2 separate regions of the Homo sapiens genome follow, and region 2 is linked to region 1. Evidence: promoter capture Hi-C in 16 types of primary human blood cells and fetal thymus (Javierre and others, 2016). All regions are on one chromosome and are shown on one strand. The core of a region is centred on a gene start or on the middle of the fragment in contact, and the rest is flanking DNA. Distances in the headings are between cores, read along the strand shown.

Region 1 (4,104 bases), core at 494-2,993:
ACTCGCTTCAGGCTAGCATCATCCCATCATTAACTAAGAAAAAGCAACAAACAAATCTAATCCAAAGGCCAGAAAACTATCAGACTAGTTCTCCAGAGCCTGTCACCATGGCAACAGTTTTCATTATGCTTAAACATGTAAACACCATGGAAGCACCATTGATCCTTTCAGGTATCCAGACCCTTAAAAATATTAAAGACAATGACTGAAGCAAGGGTAACCAGTGTAAACCCCTGCTGTAGAAAGTACAGATTCATTCATCCACTTGGGAGAGCAACTAGCAATATCCATTAATATTTAAAATGATTTTACCTTTTGACAAAGGAATTTATCTTACAGAACAAAGACATTCTGAAAGTATGTTTGTAAAGTTGAAAAAAAAATTAAAACAGTCTAAACATCAAGGGGATTAAACTATACAACTGACATGCAATGAAATCCCATGCAATTATTCAAAAGAATAAGGTAAATTCTCTGTACATTGACAGCAAACATATCTAAGACTTATTAAGTGAAAAAAAGCCAATCCTTTTTTTTTTTTTTTTTGAGACAGGGTCTCACTCCATCACCCAGGCTGGAGTGCAGTGGTGCAATCATGGCTCCCTGCAGCCTCGACCTCCTGGGCTCAAACAATCCTCCCACCTCAGCCCCCTGAGTAGCTGAGACAACAGTCATGCACCACCATGCCTAGCTAATTTTTTTGTTTGTTTTTGGTAAAGACAAGGTCTCCCTATGTTGCCCAGCAATCCTCCCGCCTCTGCTTGCCTAAGGGTAGGGATTACAGACATGAGCCCCCACACCCAGCCCATTCCTAATTTCACTTGGCCAGGGCATGGTGGCTCACAACTGTAACCCCAGCATGTTGTGAAACCAAGGTGGGAGGATCGCTTGAGCCCAAGAGCTTGAGACCAGCCTGGGAAAGATAGGGAGACCCTGTCTCTACAAAAAAAATGTTTTAATTAGCCAGGTGTGGTAGCACACACCTATGGCCCCAGCTACTCGGGAGGCTGAGATGGGAAGATTGCTTGAGCCCAGGAGGTAGAGGTTGCAGGCTGCAGTGAGCCACAGTCATGCCACCGCACTCTGGCCTGGGAGACAAATCAAGACCGTCTCAAAAAAAAAGTAAAATATTTTATTTACATATAATGATATACATAATTATCTTGTCATTTCAGTTAGAATCTAGAAAAAAATCTGAAGAAATAGAAAACTATTAATAGTGGTCATTGGAGTAAAGAACACGGTGTTGAGTTTTGAGGAAATATGAGGGAAAAAAAGAAAAATTATCCATGAAGGTGGATAAGGTAATAAATTGATGTTATTATTATTGTGATCATGGTAACCAGATTATTTCAATGAAAACATATGAATCAGAGTCCCACAAAGTTGGAAAGGACCTCAGAGGTCATAAACACCAACACCCCATTTGATGTATACAATGCCCAAGAGGTGGTAGGGGGTGGCCATGCTTGGGGAGGCGTACTAATCACGTGGGAAGCTTTCCAAAGTATACTCACCACTTACAGAATCTGGTAAGCCACCTCCAGATGGAGAATTATCAACTTTCCAGAGCCTGTGTTACTGATAAGGATATCACATCTCTCAGATGCATTGGAAACAAAAAAGGCAAAAAAAAAAGCCTGTTCAAAATGCTCCACTACCAATGATCCTTCAGTCTCTCCCTGGGCACTTCCAAAGATGGAAATTTACTACCTCTTCAAGCAGTCTGTTCCATTTTAGCAATTCTGATTTACTCTATCCCCTTAAATGTCCATTTATTCCATAAAATATTTACTAAACATCTACTACATGACAAGCATCATTTCAGGTGCTAGGAATATGGCACAGAACAAAACAGTCTGGCTCTCAAGGAACTTACACTCCTATGGAGAGAAACATATAATCAATAAGTTAACAAATAAACCAGGAACTACTAGGTAGAGATATGTACTATGAAGAAAATAAAACAGGATAATAAAGAGTGACTGGGAAGCTTTTCTTAAATTCAATCATAACAGAAGGTCTCTTTAAGAGCTTGCTATTTAAGACCAATATTTGAAAGATAAGGAACCAACCATGTAAAAATCTGGGGGCAGAGCATTCTAGACAGTAAGAACAATCTTGACATGTTATAAACACAAGGACAGACGCCAGGCATGGTGGCTCACACCCGTAATCCCAGCACTTTGGGAGGTCGAGGCGGGTGGATAACCTGAGGTCGGGAGTTCGAGACCAGCCTGACCAACATGGAGAAACCCCGTCTCTACTAAAAATACAAAAAATTAGCCAGGCTTGGTGGTGCATGCCTGCAATCCCAGCTACTCAGGAGGCTGAGGCAGAAGAACCGCTTGAACCCGGGAGGCGGAAGTTGCAGTAAGCCGAGATCGTGCCATTGCACTCCAGCCTGGGCAACAAGAGCAAAACTCCATCTCAAAAAAAAAAAAAAAAAAAAAAAAAATCAAGGACAGACCAACAAGACTATAGTGATCAAGGGGAAGGACACAAGGGCCAAATCCTGAGGGGCATGGTAAGCCTCAGAAAACAGTACGGATTCAGTTATAAGAGCGGTGGAACAGTATAATGGTTCGCAAGGTTAAAAAGAGGCAGAAGGCCGGGCGCAGTGGCTCACGCCTGTAATCCCAGCACTTTGGGAGGCCGAGGTGGGTGGATCACAAGGTCAGGAATTCAAGACCAGCCTGGTCAAGAAGGTGAAACCCCATCTCTACTAAAAATAAAATACAAAAAATTAGCCGGGTGCAGTGGCAGGCTCCTGGAATCCCAGCTACTAGGGAGGCTGAGGCAGAAGAATCGCTTGAACTCCAAGGGCGGAGGTTGCAGTGAGCTGAGATCGCGCCACTGCACTCCAGCCTGGCGACACAGTGAGACTGCGTCTCAAAAAAATAAAAATAAAAATAAAAATAGGCCAGGCGCAGTGGCTCACACCTGTAATCCCAGCACTTTGGGAAGCCAAGGCGGGCGGATCACAAGGTCAGGAGATCGAGACCATCCTGGCTAACATGGTGAGACCCATCTCCACTAAAAAATACAAAAAAAAAAAAAAAATTAGCCGGTCATTGTGGCGGGTGCCTGTAGTCCCAGCTACTCGGGAGGCTGAGGCAGGAGAATGGCGTGAACCCGGGAGGCGGAGCTTGCAGTGAGCCGAAATCGCGCCACTGCACTCCAGCCTGGGCAACAGAGCGAGACTCCGTCTCAAAAATATAAAAAATAAAAAGAAGCAGAAGAATTACTTAGGACCCAAAGAGCTCAGGGGAATGGTAGTAAAAATGGACAGAAATAAAGACATACAGGCTATATTTTGGAGAAGACAGAGCTTGCTGATGAAACAGATGCAGGAGATAAGAGAAATCAAGGGACCCCGGAAACTTAAATTTCTTCATTTAAAAACACAACCGGCCGGGCATGGCGGCTCACACCTGTAATCCCAGCACTTTGGGAGGCCGAGGTGGGTGAATCACCTGAGGTCAGGAGTTCGTGACCAGCCTGGCCAACATGGCGAAACCTCGTCTCTACTAAAAATACAAAAATTAGCCGGGCATGGGGGAGCGTGCCTGTAATCCCAGCTACTCAGGAGGCTGAGGCAGGAGAATTGCTTAAACCCGGGAGATGGAGGTTGCAGTGAGCCGAGATTGTGCCACTGCACTCCAGCCTGGGTGACAGAGTGAGACTATGTCTCAAAAAAAAAAAAAAAAAAACCACAACCAACATTGACACCACGTACTAACTGGTGAAGAGGCAGATGGCTGGATGAGCAGGTTTGATCTTGGACATGTTAAGTTCAAGGTACATATCAGACATCAAGTGAAGACATCAAGTTGGCAACTGGATTTACTAATTTGGAATTCGGGGGACAGTTCAAAACTAAAAATATAAAGGAGTAGTTGTAGGTATACAGGTGTTATTTAAGTTTATCTATTTAAAAAAAAATACAAAGTGAAGGTATCTACAACCATGCTCTCAGTCAGAGAAGCGCCCAGCACAAAACAGCAGAAAGGAAAAAGCAGTGAGGTGAGACAGAACAAGCAGGAGAGTGTTGTATTCAAGAAAAAACTTTCCTTTTACACAGAAGCCAATACCTACATTAAA
Region 2 (4,022 bases), core at 764-3,263, 950 kb before region 1:
CTAAAGAAGCCATGGCAATACCAGGGAAGAGGAGTTAAGTCCTGCCTGGGAAAAACAGATGAGGAAGTATTTAATATGGATCTGAAGGAAGCATAAATTGTCACTTGGTCAATATGGAGAGGGAGGACTTATATTCCAGGCAGAGAAGAGAGCTTGAGCAAAAGAGTACAGGCAAGTATAGAGCATGCTCACGGAACGGCAATAAATCAGTGAGGGTGGGAGAGGGAAGCAGAGGAAATGGCTTAAGAGAACATGTATGTGAAGCCAAGATTGCATTGGATTTTGAATTCCAGATTAAGGAGCCTGGCCTTATTCATTCTACCTTCGCCGAAGAGTCCTACAGATTCTGTGTTTCAGAGGGTAATTTTGATTGTGGTCTAGATGAGGAAGAACTAGTCAAGAATTAAGAGAGACAGTCTACACTGAATCAGTTTGAGCTGGTTTCATAGTTTTGAGGAGACAGAATCTGATGTGTTAGCACATCACGAGGGCGAGGGACAGGAAGAAAACACAAATAATCCAGAATTTTCAAGTTCAAGTGCTTGGAAATATTCATGCCATGCACAAGCAAAGAAATGGAATTTAGAGGGGTCTAGGATTAGGAGCAAAGACAATGAAACAAGGGGTTATGGAGCCCCCTTTTTACTCTTTTCAAATTTTCTGGCATGATATACTTTCTAAGACATTGACACATTCTCATCTTATTCAACCTTTGGTAAGGCATTTTCTCATCTCACAAGATAGAGGTGATAGAAATAATGTATCCATTTATTTCTAAAAGATTATGTAAAACAACCTGAACCAGTTTAATTAGGGGAAAAGATTTTGGGTCGAAATAATTCAGAATTTTCTGCCAAAGAAAATGAAAATAAATTCACTTTAAATCCTTAGCAGTTTATTGGGCATTTGTCACATGCAGCAGTAGCTGAAGAGAGTGGCAGTGATAATGATGCAGATGTAGTTACTTATTTTCATTCAGTCCTTCAACCTGCTGTTATCCTCTTCAGGGCAGACTTCACTTCCTGGTTCCTCAGTGTATAGATGAGGGGGTTCAGTAATGGAGTGACAACAGTGTAAAACACAGCCGCTGCCCCATCCAGGGGGTCTTTGGAGCCAGCCCTAAGGTAGATGAAAATACAGGGGACATAGTAGACTGTGACCACGATTAGGTGGGAGCCACAGGTGGAGAAGGCCCGGCGCCTCCCATCAGTGGTGCGTATCTTCAGGATGGCATTTACTATGTTGGCATACGAGAGCAGAATTAACATGAAGCAACTGGCGGCCACTACCCCGACGTCCACAAAGGTCACAAGCTCATTGACAGTTGTGTCAGCACAGGCCAGTCTCAATACTGCGGGGATGTCACAGATAAAGTAATCCACCTGATTGGGCCCACAGTAGGGCAGGCGGAAGGTCAAGGTGGCCTGGATAGACCCATGCATGGAGCCGGCGACCCAAGCTCCAGCCACAAGGACTGTGCATAACCTCCCATTCATGAGCACTGGGTAGCGCAGGGGCTGACATATTGCCAGGTACCTGTCATAGGCCATCAAGGTGTAGAGGAAGCACTGGGTGCTGCCCAGGAAGTGAAAGAAATACAGTTGAGCCACACAGCCACCAAACGGGATAGCCTTGATGGAAGGAGTAAAATCCAAAATAAGCAGAGGAACGGTGACTGAGGAGAGCCACATGTCCAGGAATGAGAGCACTCCCAGAAGAATGTACATGGGGCGAGCACAGAGCTTCGGGTCAGCCCACATGGTGAGCAGAATGAGCAGGTTCCCCAGCTGAGTGAGGATGTAAATGATGAAGAAGACCAGGAAGAGGAGGCTTCTTAGATTTGGGGGGTGAGACAAACCCAGAAGAATGAAATCTGTCACCACGGCATCCAGCGATGTGTTTTTGGTCTTTCCCATGTCTTTTTGTAGTCTGCTAAGATGAATGGTGACGTTTGACAAGAGAAACACAGCACAATGATGTTGTAAGTGAATGCTTTTGTCGGATGATTGATGCCTAGGAATTATGAGATAAACAAGATAGAGTCAAATTGTTTTTTAAAAGAGGAGGTGGTGTCACCATTAGTTATTTAGGTTTACTTAAAAGGAGAAGTCCTCCAGAGGCTGGTTAGTTTCCTAGATGGGAGGAAACTCTTGTCCATTGAGAGATACTGAAAGCCAGGATTTGCCAGATGAAGGAAGAGGGACACATGAGAGTGATAGAGAAGTACCGAAAATTCCAACCAAAAAGTGAGTTCGCCAAGGAGGGGCTAAAGTTGATGCAGAGCAGTGTGGAACAAACACCCTATAATGACCACATCTACTTTTTCTTCACCTACTATCATTGTCCCCTTTTTCCTCAGCTAAAATCTCATCTCCTTAACATATCATGCAAAAATATTCCTCATCTGGCCCTTATTTATATCGCTATTGTACCACTTGTAATTCCTTCTTATTGTTGGGAGGCATGACACTCTTCAAGCTTCTCACAGTAGTGTGCTCTAACTTGGGACTTACGCACACACTATCTTTTCTGCTCCCTTCACATAGGTAGTGCCCACTTTTCCTTCAGGATTCAGTTTGAGTGTCTTCACCTTCAAGAAGGCTTTCCGGATCCCTGAGGACAATGCTTATACTTTTCTGAGCACGTACATTATGTTGCATTGTCTAATTTCTGTTTTTCTCTCTTAATAATCATCCCGTCTAGCATGCTAAAAGTGATAAATACCGTAATTATTTTCTGAATGACTGAGATAGATAGAATGGATGTTGCCAAATCCCCCTGACTGAATACATTGTTTCTCTTGATCTTTTTTGTCTGACCCCTGTGCTCACATGGCTGGGACTTTTAGGTCAAGGGACCACCTCATTCACCATGTAATATGGGTATAATTTCATTATAAAAAACTCCAAGAAACATTTATGCCTGTTTTTGCTCCAGGATATCATTTAGATTTATTTGTTGATTTATATGGTTCATTGGTTTGGGATTGGGTTTTTTTTTTGGTATGAGGTCACAGAGGAATTTTTATTGTTTGTTATAAAATCATTGATTAATGCAGGACTTGATCTTTAGTGTGCTTGTGTGTAATATCTATGTATTGCAGTCTATCAAACAGCAACTCTCTCTAAAGACATTTACAGATTTTCAAGTATCTGAACAAGATGATAAAATAGAGGGATGGAATGTGTTTGTTTCACTCTTTTTGTTAAATAGGTTGCTTGATAAAGACTTTTCGCTCTATATATGGTTTGAGATGCATTTATCTTTCATTTAACTACAAAATATCTTTGTAATGCAAATGACTACTTTCATAAAGCAATTAAAATGACAATAGATTATTATAAATAACATGTGAATATTAATAAGTTTAATCTCTATCGGAAATTCTCCAAAGAGATTTTATCTTAAGTATTCTGTGAAATAACTTAATTCATATGTTAACATTCAAGAGTTATTAGTAGTAATAATAATAATACTGAATATATCTGGCTCTTCGAAGTCTGGAAAATGTTAAACTTGTCCTTTGCCCACCAAGAACGAAGAAATATCAGATTTTTATTGCCTGAGTTTCAGGAGGACACTTTGATTTATTTGAAAATGGATGGGAAAACTAAATCTTATTTTTGTGGTTAGAATATAGAGAAAAGAGGCTGGGCGTGGTGGCTCACGTCTGTAATCCCAGCACTTTGGGAGGCCGAGGCAGGCAGATCATGAGGTCAAGAGATGGAGACCACCCTGACCAACATGGTGAAACCCTGTCTCTACTAAAAATACAAAAAAATTAGCTGGGTGTGGTGTCGGGCGCCTGTAGTCCCAGCTACTCGGGAGGCTGAGGCAGGAGAATCTCTTGAACCCGGGAGGCGGAAGTTGCAGTGAGTGGAGATCGCACCACTGCACTCCAGCCTGGTGACAGAGAGAGACTCTGTCTCAAAAAGAAAAAAAAAAAATGAATATAGAGCAAAGATAGAAAGAGTTGAGATTAAAATGGTGCATAAAATACTAATTATGGCCAGGCGCGGTGG

Evidence for each region. Contacts are between HindIII fragments. The CHiCAGO score rates a contact against its expected background, and 5 or more counts as called.
Region 2: a contact is called between the fragment with the promoter of OR10G2 here and a fragment that was not itself captured in region 1, in 1 of 17 cell types (total CD8 T cells). The highest score is 5.9, in total CD8 T cells.

Annotation. Positions count from the first base shown.
Region 1 is chr14:22,579,312-22,583,415 of GRCh38, forward strand. The region is part of intron 1 of DAD1 (defender against cell death 1); the gene reads right to left. Among named protein-coding and RNA genes, the nearest start is that of DAD1, 7.9 kb to the right of the region's middle. RefSeq lists a silencer at 946-1,108 and an enhancer at 2,984-3,485. The HindIII fragment of the contact is 495 bases long and covers 1,497-1,991 here.
Region 2 is chr14:21,632,927-21,636,948 of GRCh38, forward strand. It overlaps OR10G2 (olfactory receptor family 10 subfamily G member 2), which reads right to left and starts at 2,014. Exons shown (of 1, transcript NM_001005466.2): 1 at 910-2,014. The coding sequence starts at 1,916. The coding sequence ends at 984. It also overlaps TRA. The HindIII fragment of the contact is 5,968 bases long and covers 1-2,476 here.